7 separate regions of the Homo sapiens genome follow, and regions 2, 3, 4, 5, 6 and 7 are each linked to region 1. Evidence: promoter capture Hi-C in 16 types of primary human blood cells and fetal thymus (Javierre and others, 2016). All regions are on one chromosome and are shown on one strand. Each heading gives the region's core, a stretch centred on a gene start or on the middle of the fragment in contact. The rest is flanking DNA. Distances are from core to core; before and after follow the strand shown. Region 1 holds the start of MRPS17 (mitochondrial ribosomal protein S17). Region 2 has its middle 87 kb from the start of LANCL2. Region 3 overlaps VOPP1 (VOPP1 WW domain binding protein). Region 4 overlaps VOPP1 (VOPP1 WW domain binding protein). Region 5 overlaps VOPP1 (VOPP1 WW domain binding protein). Region 6 overlaps VOPP1 (VOPP1 WW domain binding protein). Region 7 overlaps VOPP1-DT (VOPP1 divergent transcript).

Evidence for each region. Contacts are between HindIII fragments. The CHiCAGO score rates a contact against its expected background, and 5 or more counts as called.
Region 2: a contact is called between a fragment that was not itself captured here and the fragment with the promoter of MRPS17 in region 1, in 4 of 17 cell types (naive CD8 T cells, total CD4 T cells, fetal thymus and 1 more). The highest score is 5.9, in naive CD8 T cells.
Region 3: a contact is called between a fragment that was not itself captured here and the fragment with the promoter of MRPS17 in region 1, in 1 of 17 cell types (naive CD8 T cells). The highest score is 6.2, in naive CD8 T cells.
Region 4: a contact is called between a fragment that was not itself captured here and the fragment with the promoter of MRPS17 in region 1, in 4 of 17 cell types (monocytes, neutrophils, naive B cells and 1 more). The highest score is 7.0, in monocytes.
Region 5: a fragment that was not itself captured here is called in contact with the fragment with the promoter of MRPS17 in region 1 in 1 of 17 cell types (monocytes); the score reaches 5.3 in monocytes.
Region 6: a fragment that was not itself captured here is called in contact with the fragment with the promoter of MRPS17 in region 1 in 9 of 17 cell types (naive CD8 T cells, fetal thymus, total B cells and 6 more); the score reaches 11.1 in naive CD8 T cells.
Region 7: a contact is called between a fragment that was not itself captured here and the fragment with the promoter of MRPS17 in region 1, in 10 of 17 cell types (neutrophils, monocytes, fetal thymus and 7 more). The highest score is 13.8, in neutrophils.

The regions. Positions count from the first base shown.
Region 1 is chr7:55,949,717-55,954,127 of GRCh38, reverse strand. MRPS17 (mitochondrial ribosomal protein S17) reads right to left here and starts at 2,251. Exons shown (of 3, transcript NM_015969.3): 1 at 2,198-2,251; 2 at 810-949. The coding sequence starts at 932. RefSeq lists an enhancer at 2,139-2,198. The HindIII fragment of the contact is 16,512 bases long and covers 1-4,411 here.
Region 2 is chr7:55,449,781-55,454,191 of GRCh38, reverse strand. It overlaps a transcript of VOPP1 not described here. Among named protein-coding and RNA genes, the nearest start is that of LANCL2, 87 kb to the right of the region's middle. The HindIII fragment of the contact is 1,001 bases long and covers 1,387-2,387 here.
Region 3 is chr7:55,488,428-55,492,838 of GRCh38, reverse strand. It overlaps VOPP1 (VOPP1 WW domain binding protein), which reads left to right. Exons shown (of 5, transcript NM_030796.5): 4 at 421-557. Among named protein-coding and RNA genes, the nearest start is that of VOPP1, 82 kb to the left of the region's middle. RefSeq lists an enhancer at 3,990-4,411. The HindIII fragment of the contact is 8,751 bases long and covers 1-4,411 here.
Region 4 is chr7:55,506,928-55,511,338 of GRCh38, reverse strand. The region is part of intron 2 of VOPP1 (VOPP1 WW domain binding protein); the gene reads left to right. Among named protein-coding and RNA genes, the nearest start is that of VOPP1, 63 kb to the left of the region's middle. RefSeq lists an enhancer at 232-281. The HindIII fragment of the contact is 4,371 bases long and covers 22-4,392 here.
Region 5 is chr7:55,543,240-55,547,650 of GRCh38, reverse strand. The region is part of intron 1 of VOPP1 (VOPP1 WW domain binding protein); the gene reads left to right. Among named protein-coding and RNA genes, the nearest start is that of VOPP1, 27 kb to the left of the region's middle. RefSeq lists an enhancer at 1,562-1,721. The HindIII fragment of the contact is 5,440 bases long and covers 1-4,411 here.
Region 6 is chr7:55,567,864-55,572,274 of GRCh38, reverse strand. It overlaps VOPP1 (VOPP1 WW domain binding protein), which reads left to right. Exons shown (of 5, transcript NM_030796.5): 1 at 1-4. Among named protein-coding and RNA genes, the nearest start is that of VOPP1, 2.4 kb to the left of the region's middle. RefSeq lists silencers at 1-519, 3,105-3,399, 3,547-3,596 and an enhancer at 720-779. The HindIII fragment of the contact is 5,325 bases long and covers 1-4,411 here.
Region 7 is chr7:55,588,936-55,593,346 of GRCh38, reverse strand. VOPP1-DT (VOPP1 divergent transcript) reads right to left here. Exons shown (of 17, transcript NR_187585.1): 6 at 3,927-4,351; 7 at 3,189-3,836; 8 at 2,883-3,043; 9 at 2,640-2,692; 10 at 2,366-2,444; 11 at 1,878-1,904; 12 at 1,610-1,663; 13 at 1,398-1,440; 14 at 648-696; 15 at 224-466. Among named protein-coding and RNA genes, the nearest start is that of VOPP1-DT, 18 kb to the right of the region's middle. The HindIII fragment of the contact is 8,588 bases long and covers 1-4,411 here.

The DNA.
Region 1 (4,411 bases), core at 1,002-3,501:
ATCAACTTTAGTTCAGGTCCTTATTTCCATCCTAGACTTTTGCAGCAGCCTCTTTGCCCATTCCCTTACCTCCAGTCTTCATCCCTACCCGTGTTTCCAAGCCTGTCTTTGGGTTCAAGCAGGGATCCCCAACCCCCAGGGCAGCAGACTGATACCATTCAGTGGCCTGTTAGGAACAGGGCCGCACAGCAGGAGGTGAGTGGCGTTGAGCCAGCATGAGTATTACCGCCTGCGCTCCACCTCCTGTCAGATCAGCAGCGGCATTAGATTCCTATAGGAGCACAAACCCTATTGTGAATTGTGCATGGTAGGCAGAGTTTTGCTCTTGTCCAGGATGGAGTGCAATGGTACAATTGTGGCTCATTGCAACCTCCGCCTCCCGGCTTCAAGAGATTCTCCTGCCTCAGCCTCCAGAGTAGCTAGGATTACAGGTGCGCACCACTATGCCCAGCTAATTTTTGTATTTTTAGTAGAGACGGGGTTTCACCACGTTGGCCAGACTGGTCTCGAACTCCTGATCTCAGGTGATCCAACCGCATCGGCCTCCCAAAGTGCTGGGATTACAGGTGTGAGCCACCTCATCCGGCCAGTACTTTGCATACAGAATGACTACAGCAGTTAGAGTGGATTGACATTAACTGTTTTCTTGGAATGTGTAAACCGTGTTATACCTACAGACCAGCAAAATGCCTGGCTCAAAGCAGATGAGAGACAAGACATCTTTACTGAGAGATAAATGTTTTTTTGCTTAGGACCCAGGACATGGTGGTGATTTACCAAAGCCACCCGGAAACAAGAATGTTTCTCACCTTTAATAAATAGGGATCCAGAACAAGCCTGGTCACTCTCACTTTAGCAGTCTTTTGCATTTTTGTCCCAATCACCTTCCCCACAATCCATCTGGCATGGACGGATGAGCGAACTACGGACATTACGTGGCTTTGGTCACCTGAAAAGCAAATTCCAAAGTCTCATATTCTGGTGGTTATGATGCCACATGAATTTTGTCACAAGAACTGTCCAGGTTAGTCCAGAAACAGTTTTTTTCTTTTTCGTTCCCCCCTCCACCCAGAAACAGTTTTGTTTTGTTTTTTTTTAGATGTAGTCTCTCTCTGTCGCCCAGGCTGGAGTGCGGTGGTGCGATCTTGGCTCACTGCAAACGCCGCCTCCTGGGTTCACGCCATTCTCCTGCCTCAGCCTCCCGAGCAGCTGGGACTACAGGCGCCCGCCACAACGCCCGGCTAATTTTTTTGTATTTTTAGTAGAGATGGAGTTTCACCGTGTTAGCCAGGATGGTCTTGATCTCCTGACCTCGTGATCCGCCCGCCTCGGCCTCCCAGAGTGCTAGGATTACAGGCGTGAGCCACCGCGCCCGGCCATATGTATTTTTCTTTAGATGAAGTTTAGTTCTTTCGCCCAGTCTGGAGTGAAGTGGCGCGATCTCGGCTCACTGCAACCTCCGCCTCCCGGGTTCAAGCGATTCTTCTCCCTCAGCCTCCCGAGTAGCCGGGACTACAGGCCCGCACCACCACGCCGAGCTAATTTTTGTATTTTTAGTAAAGACAGAGTTTCACCATGTTGGCCAGACTGGTCTCGAACTCCTGACCTCAGGTGATCCGCCCGCCTCAAGCCTCCCAAAGTGCTGGGATTAAGAGGCGTGAGCCACCGCGCCCGGCTTGAATCACCATTTCAGAGATGCTTACACGTTCCCCACTACCCAACCTCTCATCTTTACAGCGCTTACAAAGCGGTAACTTTAACTTCGCCAAGCCTCACGTTCCCCTTCTGCAAAATGGGCAGGCCTATTTCGCAGGAGTGCTTTGAGAATTTGACCCACAGAACGCTCAATACCACGGACAAACGCTGGACGTTACTGGTCCCTTATCTCTCTCCACCCCGCTGGGTCGCCTCTCCCCACAGGCTCAGTGCCCAGGTAGCACTCGGCGGGGCCGCCGCGGTGTCCCCCTCCCCGGCCCAGCGACGGATGACTTGGGCTGCTTTTGAGATCAGTTCACAAGCCATTCCACCAGGCTTCGGAAAGGTTGGGGTGATTCGTGCCCTCGCCCCAGACAACCCCGAGGTCAGACGAAGCGATTCGCTCTCAGGGCTCTCACGCGAGGGTGCCTTGGGTCCCCAGCAAATCCTCCCCCGGCAGCAATACCCCGGAGCCTGCCCTCACCTCCACCACGAGACTCACCTCCGCCAAGACTATGCAGCCACCTGCCCCGGGGAGCGCCGGTCGCAGCGGGATGGCGTCACGCCGTACGCATTGGCTCAGTCCCACACTACCCCTCTCGTAGGCCGTGCATCTCCTTAGCCGTGGGCGGAGTTAAAGGCAGGACCCCGCCCACTCTCCCTTAAAGGGACCCGCGGCGGTGGCGGGGTCGGGGGCGCTGACCTCTGGTTTCCTAACGCGCGCAGCTAGTGGACAGTGGCGCAGGAGGTTTCGGACTTTTCTTTCATTCTTTTGTTTTGTTTCTTTTTTTTTTTTTTTTTTTTGAGACGGAGTCTCGCTCTGTCGCCCAGGCTGGTGTGCAGTGGCGCGATCTCTGCTCACTGCAACCTCTGCCTCCCGGGTTCAAGCGATTCTTCTGCCTCAACCTCCCAAGTAGCTGGGATTACAGGCGTGCACCACCATGCCCAGCTAATTTTTGTATTTTTAGTAGAGACAGGGTTTCACATGTTGGCCAGGCTGGTCTCGAACTCCTGGCCTTAAGTGATCCAACCACTTTGGCCTTTCAAAGTGTTGGAATTACAGGCGTGAGCCACCGTGCCTGGCCTAAAAGTGTTTTTTTTTTTTTTTTTTTTGAGACAGGGTCTCACTCTTGTTGCCCAGGCTGGAGTGCAGTGGCATGATCTTGACTCACTGCAACCTCTGCCTCCTGGGTTTAAGGGATTCTCCTGCCTCAGCCTCCTGAGTAGCTGGGACTACAGGCATCTGGCACCACGTCCAGCTAATTTTTTTTATTTTTAGTAGAGACGGGATTTCACCATGTTGGCCAGGCTGTTCTTGAACTCTTGGCCTCAAGTGATCCACCTATTTCGGACTCCCAAAGTTCTGGGATTACAGGCATGAGCCACTGTGCCTGGCTGGTCCAGATTTACCTATACTTTCCCTGACCAGTTATTGTATCAGAAGTTTTTCAAACGAAAAATATCAGTGGGGAGTGGTACTTAGCAACAAAGCTCTGAGTGCTAGGTGAGCAACTTGCTACTGGGATTTTCCTGCCTGTAGGCTATTTCAGCAGATGTAGCTATCGATACATTGAAACATACACACACGCACACACACACCTACCTTTAAACAGCAGTGGGTTTCTTTCTTTTTTGGGACGGAGGCTGTCTCTGTCGCCCAGGCTGGAGTGCACTGGCGCGATCTCGGCTCACTGCAAGCTCCGCCTCCCGGGTTCACGCCATTCTCCTGCCTCAGCCTTCCGAGTAGCTGGGACTACAGGCGCCTGCCACCAGGCCGGCTAATTTTTTGTATTTTTTTTAGTGGAGACGGGGTTTCACCGTGTAAGCCAGGATGGTCTCGATCTCCTGACCTCGTGATCCGCCCGTCTCGGCTTCCCAAAGTGCTGGGATTACAGGCATGAGCCACCAGTGGGTTTCTTCTTTTGCTTCACCAGTTCCGTATTTTTATCTCCTTTCTTCCACAGTTAGAACTCTGGTCCCTACCCCGACAACATCAATGATTAATGCTAAATCCTATAGTATACACTATATGCTTTTGGAGTTGTACTAACAATATCCCGACTAAAAACAAACTTTCTAAGTGATGCGTGAGATTATTTTTTGTGGTTCTTTTTGTCCTTAGAGTGTACAATGACAGCACTGTGTTCAACATTTCTTGGGATTCTTTTTTTTTCTTCTGTGTGGTTGTAACAATATTCTATACAATTAGATTTTTTTTTTTTTTTCAGACGGAGTCTCGCTCACAATCTCGGCTCACTGCAAGCTCTGCCTCCTGGGTTTACGCCATTCTCCTGCCTCAGCATCCCGGGTGGCTGGGACTACAGGCACCCGCCACCACGCCCGGCTAATTTTTCTTGTATTTTTAGTAGAGATGGAGTTTCACCGCGTTAGCCAGGATGGTCTCCATCTTGTGACCTAATGATCCGCCCGCCTCGGCCTCCCAAAGTGTTGGGATTACAGGCGTGAGCCACCGTGCCTGGCCTTCATTTTTATATGTTTGTATACAATTTTGTATTCGAGGATAGGAAAAACCATATCCTTTTAATCTTATTTTTTGAATGTGTAAATCATTAAAATGGTTCAAAAATTAAAACTTTAAGGCTGGGCGCAGTGGCTCACGCCTATAATCCCAGCCCTTTGGGAGGCCGAGGCATGCGGATCACCTGAGGCCAGGAGTTCGAGATCAGCCTGTGGCAACATGGTGAAACTCCATCCC
Region 2 (4,411 bases), core at 638-3,137, 500 kb after region 1:
ATTTTTAATGTTCCTAGCACAAGAAAAAGATAAATGACTGAGGTGAGAGCTATCCTAAATACCCTGGTTTGATCATTACACCTTGCATAATTGTCTCAAAATATGACATATACCCCATAAATGCATATAATTGTTATATGTCTATTAACAAAATTTTAAAAATAAGGACTGGATGTGGGTGATGAATAAATGAGGATTTGGTATACTATTTTCTCTACTTCTTATGTTCAAAATATTTTATAATAAGTTAAAATGAATAATAAAATAACCAAAAAAGATCTCAAAAACTACTATATTTTGTACATTCATATTACAGGCACACTTTATTGTACTTCGCTTTATTGCTCTTTGTAGGTATTGAGTTTTTTACAAATTGAAAGTTTGTGACAACCCTGTATCAAGGAAGTCTATCAGTGCCATTTTTTTCCAACAGCATGTGCTCACTTTTTATCTCTATGTCTCATTTGGTAATTCACATAATATTTCAAACTTTTTCATTAATAAATAACTGTTATGGTGATCTGTGATCAGTGATATTTGATGTTAGTGTTGTACTATAGGGTGCCAATAACTCTGCCTATACAAGATGGTGTACTTAATCAATAAACGTGTATTCTGACTGCCTTACCCTCCATTCCCTCATCTCTTTCCCACTCTCTTCCCTGACACACAACAAACAATAATGAAATTAGGCTAGTTAGTAACCCTACAATGGCCTATAAGTGTTCAAGTGAAAGGAAGAGTTGTATGTCACTCATTTTAAATCAAAAGCTAGAAATGATTAAGTCTAGTAAGGAAGGCATGTCAAAAGCTGAAACAGGCTGAAAGCTAGGCCTCTTGCACCGGGTAGCCAACTTGTGAATGCAAAGGAAAAGTTCTTGAAGGAAATTAAAAGCGCTATTCCAGTGACACACAATGCTGATATAGTCTTCAATTCTATGGAGGCTGAAAGAGGTGAGGAAACTGCAGAAAAAAAGTTTGAAGCTAGCAGAGGTTGGTTTATGTGGTTTAAGAAAAGAAGTCATCTCCATAGCTTGGAAGTACAGGGTGCAGCAGAAAGTGCTGATGTAGAAGCTGCAGCAAGTAATGCAGAAGATCTAGCTAAGACCACTGAGGAGGGTGGCTACACTCGACAACAGAGTTTACATGTAGACAAAACAGCCTTCTACTGGAAGAAGATGCCATCTAGGACTTTGTAGCTTGAGAGGAAAAGTCAGCGCTTGTCTTTAAAGCTTCAAAGGACAGACTAACCCTCTAGTTAGGGGCTAATATAGTTGGTGAGCTAAGTTGAAGCCAGTGCTCGTTTATCATTCTAAAAATCCTAGGGCCCTTAAGAATTATGCAAAATCTACTCTGCCTTTATCCTATAAATGGAACAACAAAGCTTGGATGACAACACATCTTTTTACAGCATGGTTAGCTTAGTGTTTTAAGCGCACTGCTTCTCAGCAAAAACGATTCCTTTTAAAATATTATTGCTTATTGACAAAAGACCTAATCACCCAAGAGCTCTGATGGAGACATAGAAGATTATTGTTGTTTTCATGCCTGCTAACACACATTCATTCTGCAGCCCATGGATCAAGGAGTCATTTTGACTTTCAAGTCTTATTGTTTATGACATACATTTTGTAAGGCTATAGCTGTCATAGATAGTGATTCCTCTCATGGATCTGGGCAAAGTAAATTGAAAACCTTCTGGAAAGGATTTACTATTCTAGATGCTGTTAAGAACATTTGTGATTCATGGGAGGCAGTCAAAATACCAACATTAACAGGAGCTTGGGAGAAGTTGATTCCAACCTTATGGATGACTTGAACCCCTTCATGGAGGGGTTCAAGACATCAGTGGAGGAAATAACTGTGGATGTGGTGGAAATAGCAAGAGAAATATAATTCGAAGTGGAACCTGAAGTTGTGACTGAATTGCTACAATCTCATGGTAAAACTTTAATGGATGAGGTATTTCTTCCTATGGATGAGTGAAGAAGGTGGTTTCTTGAAATGGAATCTACTCCTACTAAAGATGCTGTGAATATTGTTGAAATTACAACACAGGATTCAGAATATATCATAAACTTAGTTGGTAAAGTAGTGGCAGGGTTTGAGAGGTTTAACTCCAATTTTGAAAGAAGTCCTACTATTGGTAAAATTCTGTCAAACAGCGTCGCATGCTACAGAGAAATCTTTCCTGAAATAAAGTCAATCAATGCGGCAGACTTCATTGTTGTCTTATTTTAAGAAATTGCCACAGCCAGTCCAACCTTTAGCAACTACCACCCTGATCAGTTAGCAGCCGTCAACACTGGGAAAACACCCTCCACCAGCAAAAAGATTATGACCCACTGAAAGCCCAGATAACCGTTAGCATTTTTAGCAATAAAGCTTTTTTGTTTGTTTTTAGACAGAGTCTCGCTCTGTCGCCCAGGCTGGAGTGCAGCGGCACGATCTTGGCTCACTGCAATCTCTGCCTCCTGGGTTCAAGTGATTCTCCTACCTCAGCCTCCTGAATAGCTGGGACTACAGGCACCCGCCAGCACGCCCAGCTGATTTTTGTATTTTTAGTAGAGACGGGGGTTTCACCATATTGGCCAGGCTGGTCTCAAACTCCTGACCTTGTGATCCGCCCGCCTCTGCCTCCCAAAGTGCTGGGATTACAGGCGTGAGCCACTACATCCGGCCACAATAAAGTATTTTTTAATGAAGCTATGTACATTGTGGCTTTTAGACATAATGCTGTTGTGCACTTCATAGACTACAGTATAATGTAAACAACTTCTATATGTAGTGGGCAACCAAAAATTTGTATGACTCAAACTTTATTGCAATGTTCACTTAATTATGGTGTTCTGGAACTGAACCTGCAACATTTCCCAGGTATTCCTGTACTTCAGGCGTTTCTTTTGCCCCCTACCCCATAACTTTTTATTGTAATGTTCCTGTCTCAGATGGGCTGTGCGGAAGTGTCCAGAAAGGATCTCGTTCCACTCCTGTGCCTGTGTGGAAGGGGCCCAGTGCCCTCCTATAAATGGTGTGGTGGGTGCAAGGATGATTGTCAAGACACCCCCTACCCGCAAGAAGAAGGTGAAGGGAATTAGATTTGAGTCCTGTTGAATCTCCTCCCTAGGAGATCTCCCTCTGATGCCAGCCCTGAAGATCCAGGCTTCACTTTTACAAAAAAAGATGTATGTTCTTGTGCAGGTCTCAAGAGTATAATGAAGGAGGAGCAACGTGGCTTGGTCTGTTTTCAACAGTGACAGGAATGTTGGAGAGCACTCTCTTTGTCTTTCTCCCTGGACTCCAGAAATCACAAACAGTGCTGATATCATTTGCCACAGACCTAGTATTCAGTGCACATGGGAACAGAAGATTGATAACAAGTGTGTACCTGTGAAAACTGCCTGGGCGCAGCCCTTACCAATGACAATCCTTCATGTTTTTGTAGAAGAAAGGAATTTTGCATCTTACTTTAAAGCTTACGTGGGGAAAAGCTTTTAGATGTATATTCTTTACCAGTGCTGTCCACTAAAGGTATGATGTGAACCAGTGCATTGCTTTAAATTTTCATTACAAAGATTAATCAAAAAAATTATTTTAATGATATTCAGCCTAATATATCAAAGTATTATTTCAACATGTAATGATATAAAAGTATGTGAGTGAGAAATGTTACTTTTTTCCATATTCAAAATCCAGTTTGTATAACACATACTCAATGCACACTTCCACTTGGAGTGGCCACATTTCAAGGGCTATAAGAGCTGGTAGCGCTGGTGAGTGATTTACTGGACAGTGCAGAACCAGAGTGCATAGGGAAATGCCCAGCTCCTGGGTTCTGGGTGGTTACACAAGTTCCAGTGCTGGGTGGTCAGCCCTGAAATGGCATCCAGGTGCTGCTGGGGACACCCAAGAGAAGAGGCGGAGGACTGGTGGGACCTCAAGAACACCCCCAGGTCGGGGAGGTAACACTAGGACCAGCCTGAGGTCTCCTGCCCGAAATGTGCCCCCAGCCACAAGTCGGTGACTCCAACTCCCAAGGGGAAGCTCAGGGGTCCCTGGAAGGAGTGAGATGTTCTCAGCAAATGGAAGTAGGTGAAATGCAATCGTTGCTCGTCTTTTTCTTTATTACCATCCTTGTCAGTGTGGGTGCACAGAAATGTAAGATGCGGACAGAGGGCAGAAATCCTGGCTTCTCATCCAACCGCATTTCCAAAGGTCTGCTGACCACCTGGGTGCTACGCCTCAAGGGTGACATGTTTGTTTCTCCCCTCAAGGGTGACAGGTTTGTACTTAAAGGTCTCTGGGACCTCTGGCACCAGTGACATCCCTGATGCCCAGAAGTAGGCGTGTTGAGGGGCTGCAGGGGCCGCAGGAGGGTGGCAGGACCTACCGAGGCAGGGGCGGTAGAGGG
Region 3 (4,411 bases), core at 1,016-3,515, 460 kb after region 1:
GACAGACAGCGAGGCCAAGGCTGGATCGGCCATGGCTTTCAGACAGGATTTAGATGGCATCTCCTCTTCTAACTAAAATGTCGAGCTGAGGTCAGAGCCGTGGACGAGGAAGTGACTGCATGAGCTTTTTCTTTTACGGTGCTTTTCAGGGTGGGTGGCCTCACCAGGGGCTGTCCCAGAGGCCGCAGGTCAAGCATCTACTTGTTGCTATCCACTAGAGGAATGTCCCTGGGTAAAATGGGCCCAAGAGGACCAAGTCTGAGGTGCGAGCCTCATGGCTCTGCCCTTGCCTTCTGACTCGTGCATTTGGGAGTCATTGGTCCCGGACCCCCGAGGAGTGCATGAGGCCTTTGAGCTGTAGGGCCAAGCCCTCAGGGCCCCCACCTGGGAGCACCACCCTCACGTCTGTACTCTCCTCAGGTTCCTTCTGATGATGGGCGTGCTTTTCTGCTGCGGAGCCGGCTTCTTCATCCGGAGGCGCATGTACCCCCCGCCGCTGATCGAGGAGCCAGCCTTCAATGTGTCCTACACCAGGCAGCCCCCAAATCCCGGCCCAGGTCAGCCAGCCCTGTCCTTGTCTCTCCTCCCCACAGTGTGTGTCGTCTGCCAACATTTATAAAGGGTACTGCTGCAGAAAGGGTACTGCCAGAAGAGAGCGCTCAGGTGTGTTATTCATTTTTTTAGTTCTGATGACCAGCTCCATTGTGCATTTGTGCAGATAACAAATGTAAGGTATATCGCACGCCCGTCACCTCATATTCTTACAGTTATCAGTGTGCCACATATGCACGTGATATGATGCAGTTTGTATAAGCGTATTATTTGCTCTCTGCCCTTTTCCTTAAACATTATTTCACATATAAATTTCTGTGTAGGAGCGGTAATACCCCTGCCATTTTTAGTGCTTCTGGACTAGATACTAATTATGTTACTAAATGGTAATTTGCTTAGATATTTTATTATTGCTGATAATTTGTTTTGTTTTCTCATGTTTTGTCTTTTATTCATGCATTCAACAAGTATTCATTGTGCAGTTACTAGTATTCCAAATACTTACAAAGACCATAGCAATAGACATTCTTGTACAGGTCACATGTAGTCTGTTTAGTGCATAACACCCAAAGTGACATCCCAGGGTCAAAATGAATTAGCTGTTTCTTAATTCTTGTAAAACATTGCCTTAGCCATCTAAAACTCCTACATACTGTGGTGGGTGGTGTGGACTTCCTTAGGACACAGGCCAGGGAGCTCTCTGATGACAGCGGGGAGCCAAGGGTCCTGGAGGGCTGGGCTGGCTCGGCTCATCAGAGCGCTGGTCTTCTGGCCAGGTGTAGAGTGAGGCTGGGCAGAGGGGTGTTGCTGATGTCTGCACCGCCATGCTCCCAGCCACAGTTTCCACCTGGGAGCCTGGGGATGGGACTGTCTATTGATTGCACACTGTGGATAGGTGGTCAGTTCTAGGAGCAGTGGATGCCTTCGCTTTTACAAAGTTTCAGTTAAGAAAAATGAATAAGTCCTAGAGATCTATTGTACAGTGTAGGACCTACAATTAATACAACTGTAATGTATAATTAAAATTTTGCTAAGAGGGTAGGTCTTATGTTAATATATGTTCTTATCACACAAAAATAACAAGAAGAGCAGAGAAAACTTTTGTAGGTAATAGAGATGTTTATGGAATAGAGCATGGCTATGGTTTTCTGGATGTGCCCCTGTCTTTAAACTCATCAGGTTGTAGGTCTTAAACATGCACAGCTTTTTGCCTGTCAGTCAGACCTCAATAAAGTGGTTTTTAAATAGGAGAGAAGTAGAGGGATTGAATGTAATAGGAGAAAATTATCTTCTCTCTTCTGTTTTCCTGAGAACAGGCTGTTATCAAGATGCAAAGTCATTTGCATATTTGTTCTTTTACAGCTTTTTTCCACCAGATACTCCACAGGGTTTTCCTTTCAGAAAGAATTTTCTTTATTTTAAAAAATGTTGCTCAGAAAAATATATATTTTCCACAGCAGTTCACTGAGAGCTGTGCCTTAAACTTACAGTCAGGTTAGTACCATTTTGAATCCGTAAGTGGATTTTAGCCTTTGATATTTGGAAATATTTGAATCGTTTCAGATTTGTGCTGCATCATAGGGTAAAGTGCAAAATTTCTGTTAAAATGAGAGATGAAAGCCGCCACTCACTGGGTCTCATCTGGATCAGTCAGAGAGGTTTTAGTACAGGGAGGAGCAGCCCCTGCCCCACTTGGCATGGGAGGCCCCACTGCCCCCAGTGCAGAAGGCCACATGTCCCTGGTCCGTGGTCCTGGCCGAGCTCAGAGTCTACCACTCATGTGAACTGGGGCTCTTGTGGTGAGTAGGTGAGGTGCTGAGACTGTGCCTGCAGCTGCATAATTCTTTTGAACCCTGGCATGCCAGGGTTTTGAGAAGAGAATGCATCCCTATGTGCACTCCTTTCTGGTCCCATCCCTCTGTTCTGCACAGCCCCACACCCCACCTAACCCCGCTCCATCTGTCTGGGAGAATCCCCAGCAACCAGGCGATTAGATCTGCCACATCCCTTATCTCACCCTGGAGCAGTGCCTGCTGGCCACTGGTCTCCACCAGCTCCTCTGTCTTCCACTTGGCTATCAGAAGGGTCTTAAAAAACAAAAAACAGAAGCACATCGGCCGTGCTATTTTTCTGCGGCAGGGTCTCTGCCAGCTCACCTGGCTCACAGTGTAAGTCCACAGTCCCTAGCTGAGGACTGAGGACGCATTCACAGCTTCCTCAGACCCATCCCCGCTCCTCTGTGTCCAGTTTGAGCGACCTCCTCTCTCTAGTCCTGCATCGCACTGAGGCCTGCACACGCCCTCCTTCTGCCTGGAAAATGCCTTCCTCCAAGGTGCTGCTCTGTGTTGTACCCATAGTGAAGTTGTCTCTGGCTGCTTCACATCTCCACTTTCTCCCTGGGTCCCCTGCCAGGGGCTTTACCAGCTTTAATGCTCCATGTTTACACTGGGCTCCCCACGGGGCTGTGTACAGGACTCATGGTCTCAGGCACCAAGTAGATGCCCGGCCCTCATCCTCAGGCTGGATGAACTGTGGGAGCTCCCAGGTTTGCAGCCTGGTAAACCAGGGTCGGAATACATCACAACTACAGTCACAGCCTGGAGCGCAGACCTGCCTGAATTGCTGTCTTGGCCCATATTTACTGCACACCTGCTGAGGCGCCTGCAGGAGCTCAAAACACTGCACAGCCTGGACACCTGCCCTCAGTCACCGCTGCATGCACAGCTCCAGCACCCGTGTGAGCTTTCACGCAAACAACTCTATAGTGACTGACCATCATGAGTGCGAGGGAGAGAAAGTTGAGAATGCTAGGAAACCATGTAAGTAGGAGACTCCATCTGGTGCACAACTCCAGGAAGGCTTCCCACGGAAGAGCCATTTGGATTAAGAATAAGTAAGCCCCCAGCTCTCTACAGCGAGTGGCTGCTGGTCCCAGCGCATCTTCTCTGACCAAAATGTAGACTTGGTTTGCCATCCGTTTTTCATTTTATACTTCTTGCAGGCCTGCAACGGTGTGGCTGATCCCAGGATATCCAGACTGTCATATGAAAGCAGGCTCCCAGGGCTCCCGGTAGTGTACAGTTTCCATCATTTCCCTGTCAGGTCCAGGGCTGGATCATTTGTTAACAGTGCTGAGCTTGGGAAGAATTCAGCTGTTTCCTAGACAGAGTAATAGTGAACAAAAGAATGGGGTCTGCAGGGTCCTGTCTGCTGTTGGTCTGGACACCTGCCTCCCCTGAGGGTGGCTTCACCCTGCTGCAGCTGTCTGCTCAGATCCCAGACTATCTGTGGCATGGGCCCTGGGGGCGTGGGGACTGAGAGGAGGGCCACACAGAGTTTGGCAGTCCAGGGAGAGAGAGGAGCCGAGGAATCCCAATGTCCCATGTGGTCCACAGGGTAAATGTCATGCCTGAGGCTGTCCGGGCAGTGCCAAGGTGTGCAGGCATCTGCACAAAGCAGGGTGGGTGTTAGTGAATTTTCAGCAGAGCCCCATTTTTCCTCTGCTGGTCTGAGAGGGGAAGTGGGTTCAGGCGTGGGATGCCTGTTAATGAAGATGAAAAAGCAGAGGGATTTAGAGGACCCAGACTCACCCACTGGGGCAGGGGGGGCAGTGGCTCATATTCTGGGGTGTAGGGGGGCTCGCATGGCGCTCCTGCTGGGACCAGCATCACTGATGAGCATGGGAAAGCAGAGAATCTGTGCATTGCAAAGAGGCTTCTGGTCGGGGAGGGGAGGAAATTGGCAGCATTGTGGTCCTGGGGGTTGGTGTGGGTTGGGGCAGAACTCTGAACGTGGTGGAAAGGGGCTGGCAAAGTCAGCAGGAGGCTGAGGTTCAGAGGTGGGGCTCCAGGCCAGCCCA
Region 4 (4,411 bases), core at 958-3,457, 440 kb after region 1:
TTGAATTGCTGAATCAAAGCTTATACTTATATTCTACTAAATACCGTCCGACTGCTCTCCCTGAGGGTCATCATGATAATAGGCTATCATTGCCTGGGAGCACCTGTTTCAAACTGTCCCCGCCAGCACTGTGTTAACATTTTAATCAGTTTCCTTTGTATGCTTTGAGTTCATATTGTTTCCATCTTTGCTGATTTCCCTTTCTGCTGCAACATCCCTTCTGTTTAAGTCAAAACCTTTACAAGGTTCTGAAACCAAGGTGGATACCTGGACTATGCATAGAGGAATGAGATGGGGTTGCTCTCAAGGTCATGTCTGGTGTAGAAGACAGAGGCCTCTAACAGTTAACCACAATATTGCACATGGTGAGAACTGTAGAAATGGGGGTCCTGCCAAGGGAGGAGCAGGACAGATTGGGGAGGGCAGGGGATGGTGTTGGGAGAGACCTCACAGGGCTGATCTTTGAAGCGGGGTGGAGCAGAGACTTTGGGAGGAGTGCAGGCATGGGAGCATGAAGGTGCAGGGTGCAGTGGGGACCATGGGGCTGGAGTTCAGGGTGCCTGGTGGATGGCAGGAGATGAGATGGGAAAAAGAGGGAGAAGCCTAGCAAGAAGAGTCTCAAACGCCGTCTGAGGGGCTGAGACTCCCTCCTGCATGCAGCATTGTGGCAGGCCAGGTCTCACCAACACAGGCCTCCATAACAAGTGTTTCAGTACTGACTGAGTGGTTAAGTTAAATATTAAAAGCTAAAAAAAAAAAAAAAAAAAAGCCAGTGCCCTTATATAAAGTCTGGGATGTAACAAAAGCCCACCAGGAGTTTTGCCTAGGCCTTTCCTGGGCCTTAAAGCATGACAAAATAATGAAGGAATTCTTAACATGACCCATTTAGGATTAAATAAGTTTTATTTGGTGTCTGAAGAAACTCCCCAGGCCTCCACAAACAAGTTTATTGCGGTCTGAATGAACTCCCCAAACCTCTTGTGATTTAGTAGGAGACAAGATAAGGGTAATCACCCCAGCACCTGGACCCATTTAGATTAAGTGAATTTACTGAGGCTCCAGAAGAAGGCCTTGAGGACTCAGACATTAGTTATAATGTAAAAGAAGTTAATCACTTATGTCTTTAGATGATGCACACTTACAGGTAGACATATAGCTTAGAAGGTATATAAGCTCTGGAAAACTTTGTAATTTTGAGTTGGTCTGGCCATAATTTCCAGGCCTTCTACCAGTAACTGGTTGCAGAAATAAAAATTCTCTTCCTCCCCAGTTCATCTGCATCTTATTATTGGGCCACAAGAAATAGCAGCCTGACCCTCATTTTGGTCTAGGAACAGTATGACGACACGGTCCTCTGGTCTAAAGGGGAGGAGGTTGTGTTTGTAGTAAAGGCAAGACAGAGTCCAACTCCTGTAGAAATAGGGCAGAGGAACAGGCGGTGGGCATGAAAAGCATCTCACAGAAGAGTCGATATAGAGGTAAAGGGAGTCAAATAAATCAGAGGTTTCTGGTTGGGAAGACAGAGAGAGACCATGAAAAGAATAGGTTCCGGGAAAGATTCAATAGAAGACTGAGCAGAGAATGTCATATATGCATGTGGAGTTTGGAGTTCTTGCAGAATACCCAGGAAATGGAGCCAGTGAGGAATTCACTTTTGCAGCAGAGGTGGAAGAGGGCAGGATGTAGTCCAGAGCTGGAATGTAGACTTAAGAGTTCTGAGCATTTGCTTATAACAGCTAACCAGCTGCTATAGTCTGAATATGTGTGTCCTTACAAAATTCCTATGTTGGAACCTAACACCCAATGTATTAGTATTAAGAGGTGGGGCCTTTGGGGAAGTGACTTAAGTCATGAGGGCTCTGTCCTCGTGAATGGGATTACAAAAGAGGTTGCAGGGAGCTCCCCTGCCCTCTTTTGCCCTGTGAGGACACAGCAGCAAGACATCATTTATGAAGCAGGGAGCCCTGACTAGATACTGAATCTGCTGGGCCTTGATCCTGGGCATCCCAGCCTCCAGAACTATGAGCAATCAATTTCTGTTGTTTATAAATTACCCAAGCTGTGGTATTTTATTATAACAGCCTGAATGGACTAAGACCAACTCAAGTAAAAATAGAGCTGAGAAAGTAAGCCAGGTGTGAACCTCAGTGTAGGTTTCCAGATTTTTTAGGTACTAGAATCTCATCTCCCTTCCTGATCTCATTGCCAAACTCAGCTCATTACTTTAGTATTTATCATGCCTGTGTGATTTCAATGATAGGAAATTTATTATAAAATTAAAATTGATAATAAATTTGAGACAGGGTCTTGCTCTGTCACCTAGGCTGGAACACAGTGGTGCAGTACTAGCTCACTGCAGCCTCAAACCCCTTGACTCAAGCGATCCTCTCACCTCAGCCTCTGAGTCGCTAGGACTATAGGCATATGCTACCACGTCTGGCTAATTTTAAAGATTTTTTTATAGAGACAGGATCTCACTATGAACTCATAGGCAGACTTCTGAGCTCATAGGCAGACTTCTGTTTTTCACTTTAGTATGGAAAATGAAAAACACCTTCCAGAGAAGGTGGTTTCTGGTAATAACTGTTTCTGAAAGAGACATATGGCCAGAATTTATTTTTTTAACCTTATATTTAGTCAACCAGAAACTAGGAGGATTGTTTTTCAGGATAGGCTTGAATAGAACTAATTTTAAATGATCAGCAGTTTACTGAAAGGAGAAAGAGGGAAAACCTCTACCCCAGAAACACAAAGGTGGAGTTTCAAAAACTCTGGGCCAGGTGCAGTGGCTCACACCTGTAATCCCAACACTTTTGGGCTAAGGCAAGAAGATCACTATGGCCAGGAGTTAGAGACCAGCCTGGCAACATAGTGAAACCTCATCTGTAGAAAAAATTTTTGTAATTAGCTGGGCGTGGTGGTGTGCACCTGTATTTTTAGCTACTTGGGAGGCTGATGTGAAGGGATCACTTAAGCCAAGGAATTTGAGGCTGCAGTGAGCTATGATTGCAGCATTGCACTCCAGCCTGGGTGACACAGTGAGACCTTGTGTCAAAACAAACAAAACAAAAAACTCCGTAGTTACCAAAGTTCAGCAGTAATTTAAGAGCTTCTTGGTCCATCTTACCTCACCTCTTCACTTTAACTCTGGGTGCATCTGGGCTCCAAGGCAGCAGCTCCTCAAGGGTTAAAATGGCAAAGAAATGAGCACTTTTTACCCCATTTGGTCTGCTAATATTAGTGATTTTAGTAAGTATTTGTAATGCTTTCTCCCATGGTAGAAATACAAGTAAAATTTCCCTAGGTAAATCCTGTATGCCACCCTGAATGCAACTAGTTTGGGTTTATACAAGTCAGAGAAGGTATTTTCTGGTGATAACTGTGTCTCTGAAGGAATGATTGACAGGGCAGCCATCTTCCCACCCTCAACGTCTCGGGCTCAGGCCTCATCAAAGCAGTGATGGCCCCCTCCTTAGAACCCAGAGATGTTTGACTTCGCCATGGGATGTGTTGACCAAATAAAAGTTGAAACATCATCAAAATGGGACCACACGTCTCAACACACAGGCACCTCCCTGCCCGTCAGGGAAACCATGTCAGGCCAGGAGGACAATTCTGACATCATGTGGATTACCAACTGAGGTTGACAGGAAAGAAAGAACCATGAGTTCATAGTCAGGTCTGTGAAGTTTTTGACTTGAAAGCAAGACAGATAAAATGGTCTAAAATCTTGTGTTTGGAAAGATGAAAGTTCTATTAAAAATGTTATTTTCTCGCAGACGTACAATATTACAAGTAATCAGATTATGCCTAGACTTTCATTGTGGTGGTATCTTGGGTGTTTGCATATGACCAAACTCATCAGATTGTACACAGCTCTTTGTATATCAAGTATATATCAATAAAGCTGTTAAAAAAAAATATACCTGCTCAGAAAAGCCAGAACAACACCCCCCACCCACCAGCTCACCCACCACATGTTCCTTCCCAGCACCAAGAAAAGAGTCACAGGCAAGAGGGCTCCAGATTTAGGTCTTTGGTTCTCAGCCCTGCCGTGTACTGAAATCTCCTGAGGAGTGTGTCCCAGCCAGCAGGCACGGGTGTTTTTAAAGCTGCTGGACAGTTCTGACGTGAGCCTGTGCTGAGAGCCACTACTTTCCACAGCACTCCTCACAGGTGTTTCTTGAGGCTGCTGGAGTTCTGCCTGAACCACCTCCTGGTTTGAGTTTTATCCACATGTATGGGCTGGGACTTCTGCTGCCTCATTCAAATGAGAGAGCTTTCCTGGGGTAGGTTGGATTCCTAAAGGCAAAGCCAGGATATGACCCAGGAGGTTATGCCATATTAAGGCTGGAAATGCATAAGTGTATTAAGTAATATTATAAAGAAGCTTGTGGGGCCGGGCACAGTG
Region 5 (4,411 bases), core at 996-3,495, 410 kb after region 1:
TATTGGTAGCTAGTAGGAGACGATCATTCCCAACTCAACTGGTTTGTTAGTCAAGTAAAGGGTTGCATGATGGGCATACTTAGTTCCGTGCTCCAGAGCTCTCTGTAAAGGTGTATTCCTGTTGTTTCTCAAGTTTACATGAGGTTCTGTAACTCCCAAAAAGTTGGCAAGGTTTATTGGTATGCAGAGGCTTACGTTTAAATTAAAGATTCCTGTACTTACATGTCACTGTTAATTAGCCCAAATTTCACTCCCAGCCTTGGTGTGCGTATGGCATCAACCTTAGAAAGCCTTGGAGCCCACCTTGCCTGCCACTCTTCCTATTCATTTCTACATGAATGCATGTAGCCCCAGGGGGAAGGTAGCCTCAGTCCTGTTGGGGTCCTGTTATCTGTGGAACCCCTGGAGCCCCTTTGTCCCCCGTCCCCAGCCTCAGAGGTGGGACAGGGTTGGATCTGGATGTTAGCTGGCATTAGGTGAGAACAGTGGAATCAAGACCCAACCCACCACTCCCTCCTACAGCTCTGTCGGCTTCTCCCAAGTCTTAACAGCTGACCTGGGGCTGCTAAAATCCAGGTCAGAGGGATTACAAATTGCATGGCCTTCTGCCAGTCTGGGCGGTTGGCAGAATGTGGGTCGAGAGAGCTGTGTTGCTGAGTCATCTCTGCTCTGACTCGCTCATCAGTGAAATGAAGGCTGTCCTTCTCCATGTTCAGGGGCACTGGGGACAAGGCCTGTAGCTCCCATTTGTGGAGGTGCTTCCTGTTGGTTTTAGGATGCAGACCTGATCCCATGGCTTAGCCTCCCAGGCTCTGCATGGCCTGAGCTCTCGGCCTGCTGGCCTCTGCTCCATCGCCCCTCCCTTTGGGCTCTGTGCTTCAAAGCTGGAGCCTTAATTCAGGGGTGGTGGTGGTCGTGGTGGTATCACTTATTTCTTGGCGGGGGAGCACAATATATTTGTATATTTTTTAAATCAACTTTTAATTTTGGAATAAGTTTAGATTTATAGAAAATTTGCAAAGCACATTTGCAGAGCAAATACAGAGTTGCTGTATAACCCAGTTTCCACTAATTTAATAACTTACATTGCCATGCTGCATTTGCCTAAAAAGGAAACCAACATTGGTATATTGCTATTAATTAAAATTGCTTTATTTGGATCTCTCCAGTTTTTCCATTAATGTCCCTTTTTCTGTTGGGAGATTCAGTTCATCATGGCGTATTGATTTAGGCTCATTTCAGTTTTGCCAAAACTTCTTGCATCCTACCACCTCACGGTCCATAGAGCATATAATTCCGCCTTTCCCTTAAGTGTTCTCTTTGTACAACTATTCTCAACTTAGTGAGCTACCTGGGAATTATATCTTCATTCATGGGTCAGATCCTGTCTACATCTCCCTCGACTGTCTTGTAACTCAGGAGATGGCACCACCTGTGCCCTCCTCATGACTGAGTCCTTGTCTTCTAGCACAGGCCAGAGCTGTGGAGTGCTTAGTGAGTATCTGTGAGCTGATTGAACAGCTGGGCTTAGTAAATCCTTCCGTTTTTTCACTTTTTCTTTTCTTTATTTTATTTTTTTTAATTGAGACAGGGTCTCATTCTGTCACCCAGACTGGAGTGCAGTGGTGCAATCACGGCTCATCGCAACCTTGACCTCTCAGGCTCAGGTGGTCCTCCCACCTCAGCTTCCTGAATAGCTGGTATTACAGGCATGTGCCACCATGCTAATTTTTGTATTTTTTTTTGTAGAGTTGGGGTCTTGCTGTGTGGCCCGGGCTGGTCTCAAACTCCTGGGCTCAAGGGATCCGCCTACCTCAGCCTCCCAGAGTGCTGGTGTGAGTCACTGCACCCAGCCAAATCATTCCTTTTTAAACACAAGAGCTGCAGCTCTCCACAAATGACAGATCTGTGAGCTTCCATGGGGCTTGCCAGACAGGGAGCCTTAGGCACAGAGCACGAGCAGGCAGTGTTCAGCTCAGTGGATCCCTCTTGAGTCCCGGTGGATGTGTAACCAGTGTGGCCCGCAAGCTGTGATTCCAACTGCAGTCACGCCTGTGTTATTTTTCTAGTCATACTGGAGTGTAGTCATACCTGTGTTTATCCTAAGGTGAATTCAGCCATGCATACTGGGCCAGAAAGAGGATGGGGAGAGCAGGCTTCTTCCCTCCTGGCTGCGCCTCTGAGTGCCTCCCTCCTGCCATGGGTCAGTTGTGTGCTGCTTTGTCTGGGGCTGGTGGGATCTTGACATCAAGACAGGCCTCCCAGGGGAGAGCAGCACGTTCTTGGACCTCACAGCACTGGGGGCTTCAGTGACTCAGTGGGATGCCCCTCCTGATGAAAGAGTTTTCTTCTCCTAGCGTGGTCTCACCTGTGCCCCTTTAAAGAAATAGTGATCACAGGGAACATTGACCATAGGTGACTTTTCCTGTATTTAACAAGTTTATTTCATTTTTAAATAAAGTAATATATGTATATAAATGGAAAGTTTAATAATGTCACAGCTTAACACAGTCTTCCCCATGCCCCACCGTTGTGGTCTGCTTCTCAGAAGAACTACTTTCAACTCTTATTTAGCTGGTTCTTCTACTATTTGCCTCCACATTTTAAAATAATACACATACCTTCTAGCTCTTGATTTAACAGTGCTAGACATTATTTAATCTCTCTTCCTCTATCCTCTCAGTATATATGTTTATATCAGTACCGATTACACGAAAGTAAAATGTATTTAAAATATCTGGTTAAATCCACATTTAGTATCATCATTATTTTGACTACGTTTTGCTGACTGTTGAGCCAGTGTAGAACACTAAAATTGCGCTTTTATTGGACAACTTTTTTTATTTTCCTTGAGTTCAAAATGGCCTCGTGGTTTCATTAGCTTAGTTTATTTCAGATGTTTGCTTGAGTTCCACGGTCTCCACCAACTCTGCTCTCCACCAACTCTGCGGAAGCCTTCAACAACACTCTCCAGAGTTAAATGTTAGATTACATTCGTCAGTTTCAGTTTCCCCTCTGGTGAGGTCCTCCCTGAAACCCCCACTCTTCCACACCAGTTGGAGCTGTGTTCTTTTTGGGAAGACCCAAAAAGAAGTTTTCAGCACATTCCAGTATCAGAAAGACTGTTTTCTTTTCAAGAAACACTATCTTTTCTCGCAAGTTTTTTTCATCCGATGGACACCATGATGTTGTGACTAACAGCGTTCCCCGTTCTGCCTTGGCCCTCAGGAGCCTGGAGCTAAGTGTGGGGCCATCTCCTTCCCCCACCAGCCCTACTGCCCCAAACCATAAAAACCATGCCATTGTGTGCATTTATTTTGTTCCAATTTCATCATATTTTCTTCTTCTTGTGTCGCTTTTGGTCAGCTAAAATCTTTTAAGAATGTGTTTTACAGATTAACACAGAAGCATGCTGGGCCACACATTTACAGCCAGTTGATTTTTGACAAAGGGGCTGAGAACATCCATTGGGCAAAGGACATTGTCTCTTCAATAAATGGTGCTGGGAAAACTGTACATCCATATGAAGAAGAATGAAAGTAGACTTCTGTCTCTCGCCATGTACAAAAATCAACTCAAAATCAAAGACTTAAATGTAAGACCTGGAACTATGAAAGTATTATGCTAAAATAAAACTTTGGGGAAATGCTTCAGGACATTGTTTTGGGCAAAGATTTCTTGAGTAAAGCCTCAAAAGCACAGGCAACCAAAGCAAAAATTGACAAATACGATTACATCAAGCTAAAAAGTTTCTGCACAGCAAAGAAAACAATCAACAAAGTGAAAAGACAACCCACAGAATGAGAGAAAATATTTGTAGGCTATTCATCTGACATGGGATTAATAACCAGAATATATAAAGAGCTCAAACAACTCAGTAGCCAAAAACCAAATAATCTGATTTAAAAATGGGCAAATTATTTGAATAGACATTTCTCAAAAAAAAAAAACCATGTAAATGGCCAACAGGTATATGAAAAAATACTCAACACCGCTAATCATTAGGGAAATGCAAATCAAAACCATGAGATATCACCTCATCTCAGTTAAAATGGCTATTATCAAAAAGACTGAAAATAAATGGTGAGGATATGGCGAAAGGGGACCTCTCAAACACTAGTGGTGGGAATGTAAGTTAGTACTATGGAGAGCAGTATGGAGGCTCTTCAGAAAACTAAGAATATGGAACTACCTTATGATCTAGCAATCTCATTGCCAGGTATTTTAAATGGACAAAGGATTTGGACACACATTTCTCCAAGGAAGAACATGAGCATATTGAAGAGATATTTGTACTCCCATGTTTGTTACAGCACTGTTAATAGCCAAGATAAGGAATCCACCTAAGTGCCCATCAGTGGACACATGGATAAGGAAAATGTGGTTTTATATACACAATGGAATATTATAA
Region 6 (4,411 bases), core at 922-3,421, 380 kb after region 1:
GGAGGTAGGGGCCGGGGACCGGGTGCTGCCGGAGGCGCGGCGCCCACCATGCTGGCGGCTGGGGGCGCGCAGTTCCGAGGCGCCCCAGAGGACCTTGCCTGGGAGCGCAGACGGTGGAGCGACGGGGAGCCACAGCCCTGCGCGCCTCCCGGAGCTGGGAGGTGCGGGACCCTGGTGACGGGGAGGCTCCCGCCCCGGTCCGCGCCTTCCGTCGTTCCTTCGGTTTTCGCACCCCGCCCCCACCCTGCGGGTGAGCGCGTTTCCCGCGCCGACCGCCTCCGTTAGCTCGGGGTGACCTTTGTGCACCGTCCGCCCCCTCTCCCCGCCGCAGAGGGCCGAGGATCGGATGGACCCGGGGTTGGGCGGGGGTGGTCCTCGGGCGCGGCGCAGGCGCGGAGAGCCCGGGGCGCCGGGCAGTTTGGGGTTAGGAAAGGATGGGTGCCGAGCCGGGGTGAGGGGAGCGGGCGGAGGGGACTGTGGGGAAGTGTCGCGGGAGTGCCGGGAGTTGTGGAGGTGAGCAGCGGGAGGAGGCGTTCCCGCGTGTGAAAATGAAGTGCAGCCTTTAGGTGCGGGGAGGAAATTCTGCGGAGAGCCTGGCTGGGTGGGGGTGCGGAGCCGAAGCCGGCGGGGAACTTGTTGAGCGGCTTCCGGGTGCGAGCGCCCGTGACCGCATCCCTGGCGGGGACCGCGGCTGCTCCTGGCTGTGAAATTGCATCCTCGGATGGGGCCACATACTTCTCACTAAAGCAGGTTCCTTAAAATGCGAACTAGAGGAATTCTGGGGTGTCCAGTCTGAATCAGGGCTTGTTCAACTTTCTCCTTAGTTTCATTATTCTGAAGGAAATTTGCGTTAAATTAATGAAGTCAAAAGAAATAGGTAATGAATCCCATGCCTCTGTTTTAGGAAGTTGTGAAACTATCTTCCTTAATAGTTAGTGATTGGTGCTGGAAATTACTAGTTTGTCTTCGCCCTTTATTAAAAAGTAATTATTACAAAATGTTGGAGGAAAAGTGTTTCCTGAAAGGAAGGCTGGTGGACAAATTTCTCCTTGCTCCAGGCTCTGCCATAGCCGAGACTTCCTGTTTCTGTTCGGAAATATCCCCGTAGCTTGGTATTTAATGTTTTTGTGGAGTGCCTCTGCTTGCATTCTTTCCATTTATTCAGAATTTTAGAACCTTAGGAATCACATTCTCTGAGTGACTCACCATAGAGAACAAAGAAGTGAATCAGAGACCAGTAATCGCATGAAAACAGATGTGCTTGTACCTTAATGTGTGTACCTATACTTGCAATCTTTATTTTTTATTTTTATTTATTTATTTCTTTAGTTTTGAGATGGAGTCTCGTTCTGTGGCCCAGGCTTGAGTGCTGTGGCGCGATCTTGGCTCACTGCAATCTCCGCCTCCTGGGTTCAAGCTATTCTCCTGCTTCAGCCTCCCCAGTAGCGGGGACTACAGGCGCCCACCACTATGCCCGGCTAATTTTTGCATTTTTAGTAGAGTCGGGGTTTCGTCATGTTGGTCAGGCTGGTCTCGAACTCCTGACCTCAGGTGATCCGCCCGCCTCGGCCTCCCAAAGTGCTAGGATTACAAGGTGAGCCACCGCGCCCGGCCCTGCAATCTTTTTTAATCGGCACTTGATGAAATTATTTAGCGTTTCTTTCATTCTAGTTTGTGCCACCCATGTCTCCCAAGCCTTCTGTCTGAGTGGTTCTGTGCCCTATATGTAGCCTAGACGGCCTCAGTGACTCCATTCTTTCCAAAATAGCTGTTTCGTTGCATAGGAATGTATCCTCTTAATAGGAGTTCAGATCATGTCTGCAAAGTTGAAACGACCTTAAAGGCAGAAGTGTGATGTAAAACTGAAACCTAAATGCCTAAGATGATACTTTCACAGTCAAATATTAGATGATTGTTTCAGAGGGGACAGTGTGATGTCACCCACTTTGACATGATGATTATCCTAAGTACCACCACTTTGTGCTGGAGAGGCGTCTCTCTGAGGAGTTAAGGAGATTTCTTCATCATTTATCACATGAAATTTTATGTATGAGATTTATATTTGAGATTTTTTCATCTCTGGTGGGGTGCTCTGATGAATACCTGTGATGCTTCTGAAGTCCTGAATCACATACATGGATGTGCAGTCGTAGGTGTGGAGCATGTGCCATGGCAAATGGCTCTCTTCAGGTTGAGTGCATAAAAGCAACCCAGGGAGCTATTTGGTGGCTTCTGGCTTCTGACTGCCGGCTGCAACCTGGGAAATTTGTCTTTGTTCCTTTGTTCTGCCTGAGCTGGTTTCAGTGTATAAATTTGCCACGTGGTTGATCATAAACCACCTGAAATTAAGGGGTGGCCTTGTGGCAGTGGTGACTCTGTTCCCACCCCCAGCACCCTGGCCCTATCTAGCACCATCCAGAATCTCACATGCGCAGGGGTTTCTGTGTTAGTGAGAGGTCCTTGAGTAGGAAGGGCAATCCAAAGACTGTTTTGAGAAGTGCTTTCCTCCCCTGCCTCACCATCCCTTTGTAGAAATTTACTTACCTGTTAGACATAGAACTGCATATTTATGTTTGCTTACTAAACATTCATAGAGTGCTCCAGGGTAACTGCCAGGCACTGTTCTATAAATGTTACACGTTATCTCATTAATCCTGCTAGCAATTACTTTTATCTTCATTTTTGTTTCAAATGGGAAGTGAACACTTAACACTGCTGTTAAGTGTGAGGGCTTAAGATGCTAACCCAGGCAGTCTGGTTCCAGTGTGTACCCCACCTCGATGCTCTGCTTCCTCTGCCGTCTGCGCACACAGGAACATGTTAGGAATTTGCATGCTCTACATCGCGAGGGCAGTGGTGGCCCTGGAAAGTGTATTCCCCTTAGAAACTCAGTCACCCTTCCTTAGAAAGACCATGTGATTTAGCCTACAAACGGTGGCACTTTGAAGAGTGAAATAGGATGTTGTTAAGAGCTGTGCCTGGACAGTGGGCATCACCAGGACTCTCCTGAGAAACCCTGGTTGTGTTCCCCTCCTGAAGCCCAGGTAGGGCTTCAGGGAGGAACCGGCAGCAGCTGACAGCACCATCCCTCTCCTAGGGAGGCTTCTTGGAAGCTCATTACTGGACTGACCTTTCTTTTCTATTAACTCAGAGTTTCCTGTGAATTACATGCACAGCCAGTGAGGGCCCTGATTTTATCTCCCTCTCCCCTGTTGCTCTGTGCCAGCTGGTTATGATCCAGGGACCCAGGCCACGAATGTGGCAGATTCTAAGGGTGGCTAAGAGTAGGGAACCTCAGAGGCCTTTTTGGTTCATAAAATGCTAAGGTTCTATGCCTTTGTTCCGCCAGCTGGCTGAAGTGAGGTCCTGCAAACAATCCTTACAGGAAGAGTGAAAGTACTAAGCTGTCTCCTAGTAGCCCTGCTGAAGTTATTCTCAGTGGCCTTCACACAGTAACTCCTTAGAAACTAAAAGGAAAAAAAAAGGTTTTAAAACTGACTACACTTCAGTTGAATCCCGAGAGTAATGAGGCCCTAAGCATATGCACCTCCCTGGGGCTTTTTGTTGTGTGCATTGTTTTCTAGATATTGTCACTGCATTCTCTTTCTAGAGGTTTGGTTGGTTACACTTTTGAAATCTACTTAGTATTTGTTTGAAGGGCTCTGTTCTTACTGAAGTGAGCCCAGAAATGTATAGTATGCTATTTAGTGTAAAACTCACCAATACCAGTGCCTCTGCTTCCAAGGAGATAGACTTATTTTAGTTAAGGGACTACTCATTATCTTTCTGATCTTTCCCAGGAACCAAGAGCTGGAAACGCTTAAGCCACGTTGCTTTGTGCTTCAATGCTGTTGGGCAAAAGAACAGATCTTCTTGGACTAGAAAAAGGAACAGTTGTCAGGCTGGGTGCGGTGGCTCATGCCTGTAATCCCGGCACTTTGGGCGAGGCGGGTGGATCACGAGCTCAGGAGATCGAGACCATCCTGGCTAACACGGTGAAAGCCCATCTCTACTAAAAATACAAAAAATTAGCTGGGCGTGGTGGCGGGCGCCTGTAGTCCCAGCTACTCGGGAGGCTGAGCCTGGAGAATGGCGTGAACCCGGGAGGCGGAGCTTGCAGTGAGCGGAGATTGTGCCACTGCACTCCAGCCTGAGCAACAGAGTGAGACTGTCTCAAAAAAAAAAAAAAAAAAGGAATAGTTGTCTCTTAGAGAGGGTTGCAAAGTGGACATTATCTTTGAACTAGGGAAAAATAATAAGATCACTGAGTATTTTTCTGAAGTTCTGTGTATTTTGATGCCTGGGAGTCTGGAAATTAGAACTGAGTTATGTTTAAGAGTGTTTTTTGTCTCTTGCCAAATGTCTTTTGTGCCCTGGAATTCCAACAAATGTGGCAGTCCCTGGCTGCCAA
Region 7 (4,411 bases), core at 1,201-3,700, 360 kb after region 1:
TACATGTAACCAGCCCTGGTGAGAACATGCTCACAAAAACCCAGGAGCAACATGCCCGAGACACAACACACTCATAAACCCATGTGCTCATGCAACACACCACATCCAGGGACAGCACAGACACCAGGCATCTCCCTGTCAGTGCCACCTGTCACCACCCAGCCTCTACCCACATTTCCCAGCGACTACCTCCCAAGGTCCCAGGGTCTTCTACCTCACTTACCTGCTTTCCATGTGGTCCAGGTAGTCCATTCTCCCCAGTGGGACCAGAGGATCCACAGAATGAGAGGAATTGGGGTGGGTGAGTGTTGGCCTCCAGCTAAGGGACCCCTCAGGAGTAGGGCACAGAAAAGAGGGGTAAGGGGCTGAAGGCTGGAGCTCAGTGGGGGTGGCAGGGACATTGGTCACTCACGGGCTGTACTGGCTCACCATCCTTGCCATAGTCACCGTTAACACTGTCCTGGTCCTGCAGGGATGAAGCAAGGCCAGACCCAGCTGGCATCACCCCTAAAACTGCTAAGCCTTGCATTCCCCTGCTTGCCCTGCCATATCTCCAGCTTCCCAACATCTAAGCCCATCAGTTGCACAGAGGCACCCCACAGAAGCCCCAACCTCTTCATCCTTTCCCCTCTGTCAGTAAGACTCACATGAGCCACCTTCTCCTGGGGGGCCAGGGTCTCCAGGAAAACCAAGACCCTAATCCAGAGGGAGAACAAGAGTCAGGGTCACAGCCCCATAAGCCCACCCAACACAGACTCCCACAGGCATATGAGACCCTCTTCCTCCCTACAGGCTCATCTGTTGGCACCTCCCTAGGAAGAAGGTCTCTGCACCCCTATCCCCACCTCGAGCACTTCATGCTGTCTAATGCCTTATGGTATTAGCCACAGGGTATCTCTCACTTTCTCTCTGGACTCCAGATCCCATGCATCCTCCCAGGATACCCCATTCCCAGAGCCTCCCTCCCAGGCATCCCCCCATTCCCAGGCTCCCCACAGTCCAAGATCCTTACTCACAGATACCCATATTCCCAGAAACTTGGCTGCCCTGACTCTCCTTTCCCCCCACACTCCCCATGTGTACCCTGCAGAACAAGTGGAGGGCACAGAGGGTCTTGAAGAACAGGGATGCAGCCCCTGCTTCCAAGACACCTTTAGTCACTCCCTACTGCCCTTGAGGACAATGGGATACACATAGAAAGTCTAGCCTATAAGGGGAGTCCCCTGGTCCCCTTCCGTTCAAGGACAGGGTGGAAAGCCTCACTCCAAGGATGGTTGGGAGCAGAGACTCCTGGCCGCAGAGGAGCTACAACTCAAGGAAGTCACAGGAAAAGAGGGGGGGTGCAGCTGAGAGGGGTGAAGGGAATTCTGAAGCAGGGCCCTGGAGCTGTCACTCACCTGACACCCGGCTCACCCTGGATTCCTGGAGATCCTGACTCTCCTGGCTCCAGGAGCAAAGAGATTGGGGTCAAAAACCTCATTGCCCCCTCACAAAATCCTGGTATTTCTCACATTTTATTCTCTTTTGTCTCCTCAACAAAAAATTGGCAGAAATCCAACTGTCATTCCTCATCCACAAGACTGGTCCCCTTCATCCCTTTCCCAATTACCTTCTCTCCAGGGGGACCCAGGGCCCCAACACCTCCCAGGGGATCTTGTGGACCCTGAAAGAGGAAGAGAAATAGGTGACATCGCTTCAGGAGGTGGGGTTATTGCAGGGGCAGAGGCCCAGATGAGCATCCCAAGGTTATGGCAGTGGGACAGTGGGGGCCTCCCAGGGGAAGGGGCTTCTCAGGGGCGAAGAGTTTATGATCTGAGGAAAGGGACGCAGAGGATCAGACTCATTGCTCTGAAGTGGCAGGGGCTGGGATGACTCACACCAGTGCCACTGGGTCCAGGTAGTCCCTGCAGGGGAACAGATACACCAGAGGTGGGGAAGGGAAGTGAAATGGCACAATGAAGGAGTGTGGAGGGAGGAAGAGCAGTCAGGGCAGGGAGGCAGCAGTGGGGTGGGGGCTGGCCAGGCAGGGGTGACCATTTGGGGTCTGGGGTCAGTAGGGGTCACATTCACCATAGGACCCACATCTCCTGTTTCTCCCTTCTCCCCAGAGGGACCTGGCACACGCTATGCAGGTGCAGAAAGCATGGACCCAGGTGACCACCCACCCAAAGCACAGCCCTAGACTGATGGGTCCCACAGCCCCTCCACTCAGACCCCACATGGCCCCCAGGCTTCTGCCCCCACCAACCCAGTCCTTAAAGCATGTTGCTGGCAGGGTCTGGGACACACATCACCCCATCCTGACACTGCCTCTCAGCCCGTCCCCAGCCGCATCTCACCTATAGATTCATGAATCCTGTTCTACCTTTATTGCCTTTGGCTCCCCACACTCTGGCTCCAAAGTGTCCCTGGGGTCCCTGAGCTCTGGGCTCCCAATCTGCTCCCTGGGGAAGGAGAGAAGCAGGGACAAGGACATAGACATGGGTCATGGGTCAGGCATTCTCTATTCACGAACCCCATACATAGCTGGGTACCAGGCCCAGAGACCCCACTCCCAAACCCAGCCTCAGGGGCAAAGGGGAGTTGAAGGCAGAGCAGAGGCTGCCAGGGCCTTGCGTGGGGGCCGAGGGTTCACTCACCACTGCTACAGGCTGTTCCATGGACCAGTGAGTCCAGGGGGTCCAGGAGGGCCCTGGGGGAGAGACGAGAGTCAGAAACACCAAGGCAGGGAGGAACCAGGAGGGAATGAGGTTAAAGGCCAGGGCGTCAAGGTCATGGACACTTTGATGCCCTTCTTCCTGGGGTCCCCCACCTCATCCTGGAGGAGAAGGCACAGGAGATACCAGAGGGAGGAAATGATAGAGCTCAGGAGTCAAGCCCACCTCAGCCCTCTCATGTGGAGAGAAGATTGGTCGGGTTCTCTGGGGTTCTCCTCTTGGTCTCCATCTTCTCCAGCCACACCTGGAGGCCCAGCAGGACCAGGAAGTCACACAGGACTCTGCACCCTATCACAGCCAGGCAGACAAATGGGGCCCTTTTCACCCTGTGGGGCAGGAAGGAGGAGTCATGGCCTGGAGGTGACCCTCACCCTCAAACACCCACAGGAAACCTTTCATAGCCCATCACCCCTCAGCCCACAGACCCCTCCCCAAGAACCACTCCCAAGGTCCCCACTCTCACTGGGACACCTGTCTCTCCTGCTGATCCAGGGGGTTCCTGAGGGCCTGGGCACCCTGGCGGGGGGCAATGGGTCCCTTGATCCTGCTGCACCTCACTCCCTAGGGGGGAACCCTGAAAGTTGAGATGAGTGAGATCCCCAGGGAGGAAGACCCAAGCCCACTCATACCAGGGCCCTCAGAGCACAATTCCCAGGAGAAGAGCCCCAAATCAGCTGCATTCTGGCTGACTCTAGATTCCCTCTGCCCAGTCCCACAGCACCTGCGTAGATCTGGATGCCACCTCCACCCTGCCTCAACACCCCCTTTCCTAGTTCCCTCCTCCCACTCCCCAGGAACCCCAGGCTCCCTGCAGGGTAAGGGGGCCAACTGGACCTCATTCCTCTTCAAGCTGGGTCCACACTCTGAAGCAGAGATTTGGGGAAGGTGGAGCTTCACAGAAAAGAGAAGGGTGAGGGCTGGCGAGAGGAGATAGGTTCAGAGAGATGGGAGTGGGGAGTGGCATGGAGCAGGGTCAGGGTCAGGGAGGGGTTCAGGTCACTTGGTCCTTGGTCCAGGCAGGGCTCTGGGAGTCACACTCACAGCAGTGCCTAGGAGGCCTCTCTCTCCTGGGAAGCCCCTCAGACCAGGAACATCCTTCCCTTGAACCCCATGGACACCCTAAAAGAAAAGGAGAGGTGAGGAGCGACAGCCATCCGTGCTGCCAAATTAAAAAGAGAGATTTCTGAGCCCCCTCAAGTCCCCAGCTACCTGTTCCAGACATGCGAGCCAGAGGCAGGGGTGTGTGACTGAGAGAAGAGAGCCAGACAGACTTAACTCCAGGGTCTGGGAGCCGTTCTCTCCTGGGAACAGACCTAGCTGAGGTCCCACCACATATGGGGGGCCACGGGGGCTGCTCTCCCCTTGGAAACCCTGAGAGGAAAAGGGGGGAGTGCAGTGGGTGCTGTAGGGTAGATGCCTGGGCTCCAGAAGAGGAACAAGGTCACATCAAGCCTCGGCCCGTGGGTGTGGACAGCATTAGGGCAGGCTCTGTTCTGCTCAGAAAATGTCTCTGTGGGCCTCCCAGACAGCTTTGGCATTTGAGGGGCCTCCTGAGAATTGGTGGCCAGGGGTCTCCCTCACCACCTTTCCTCTCTGGCCTGAGTGTCCCGGCAGCTTGTCATTCCCAGGGTGCCCTGGAAGGAGTCCAGATGTCAGGTGAACTCTGGGCTGGAAGGAGGCAGGGAAGGACTCAG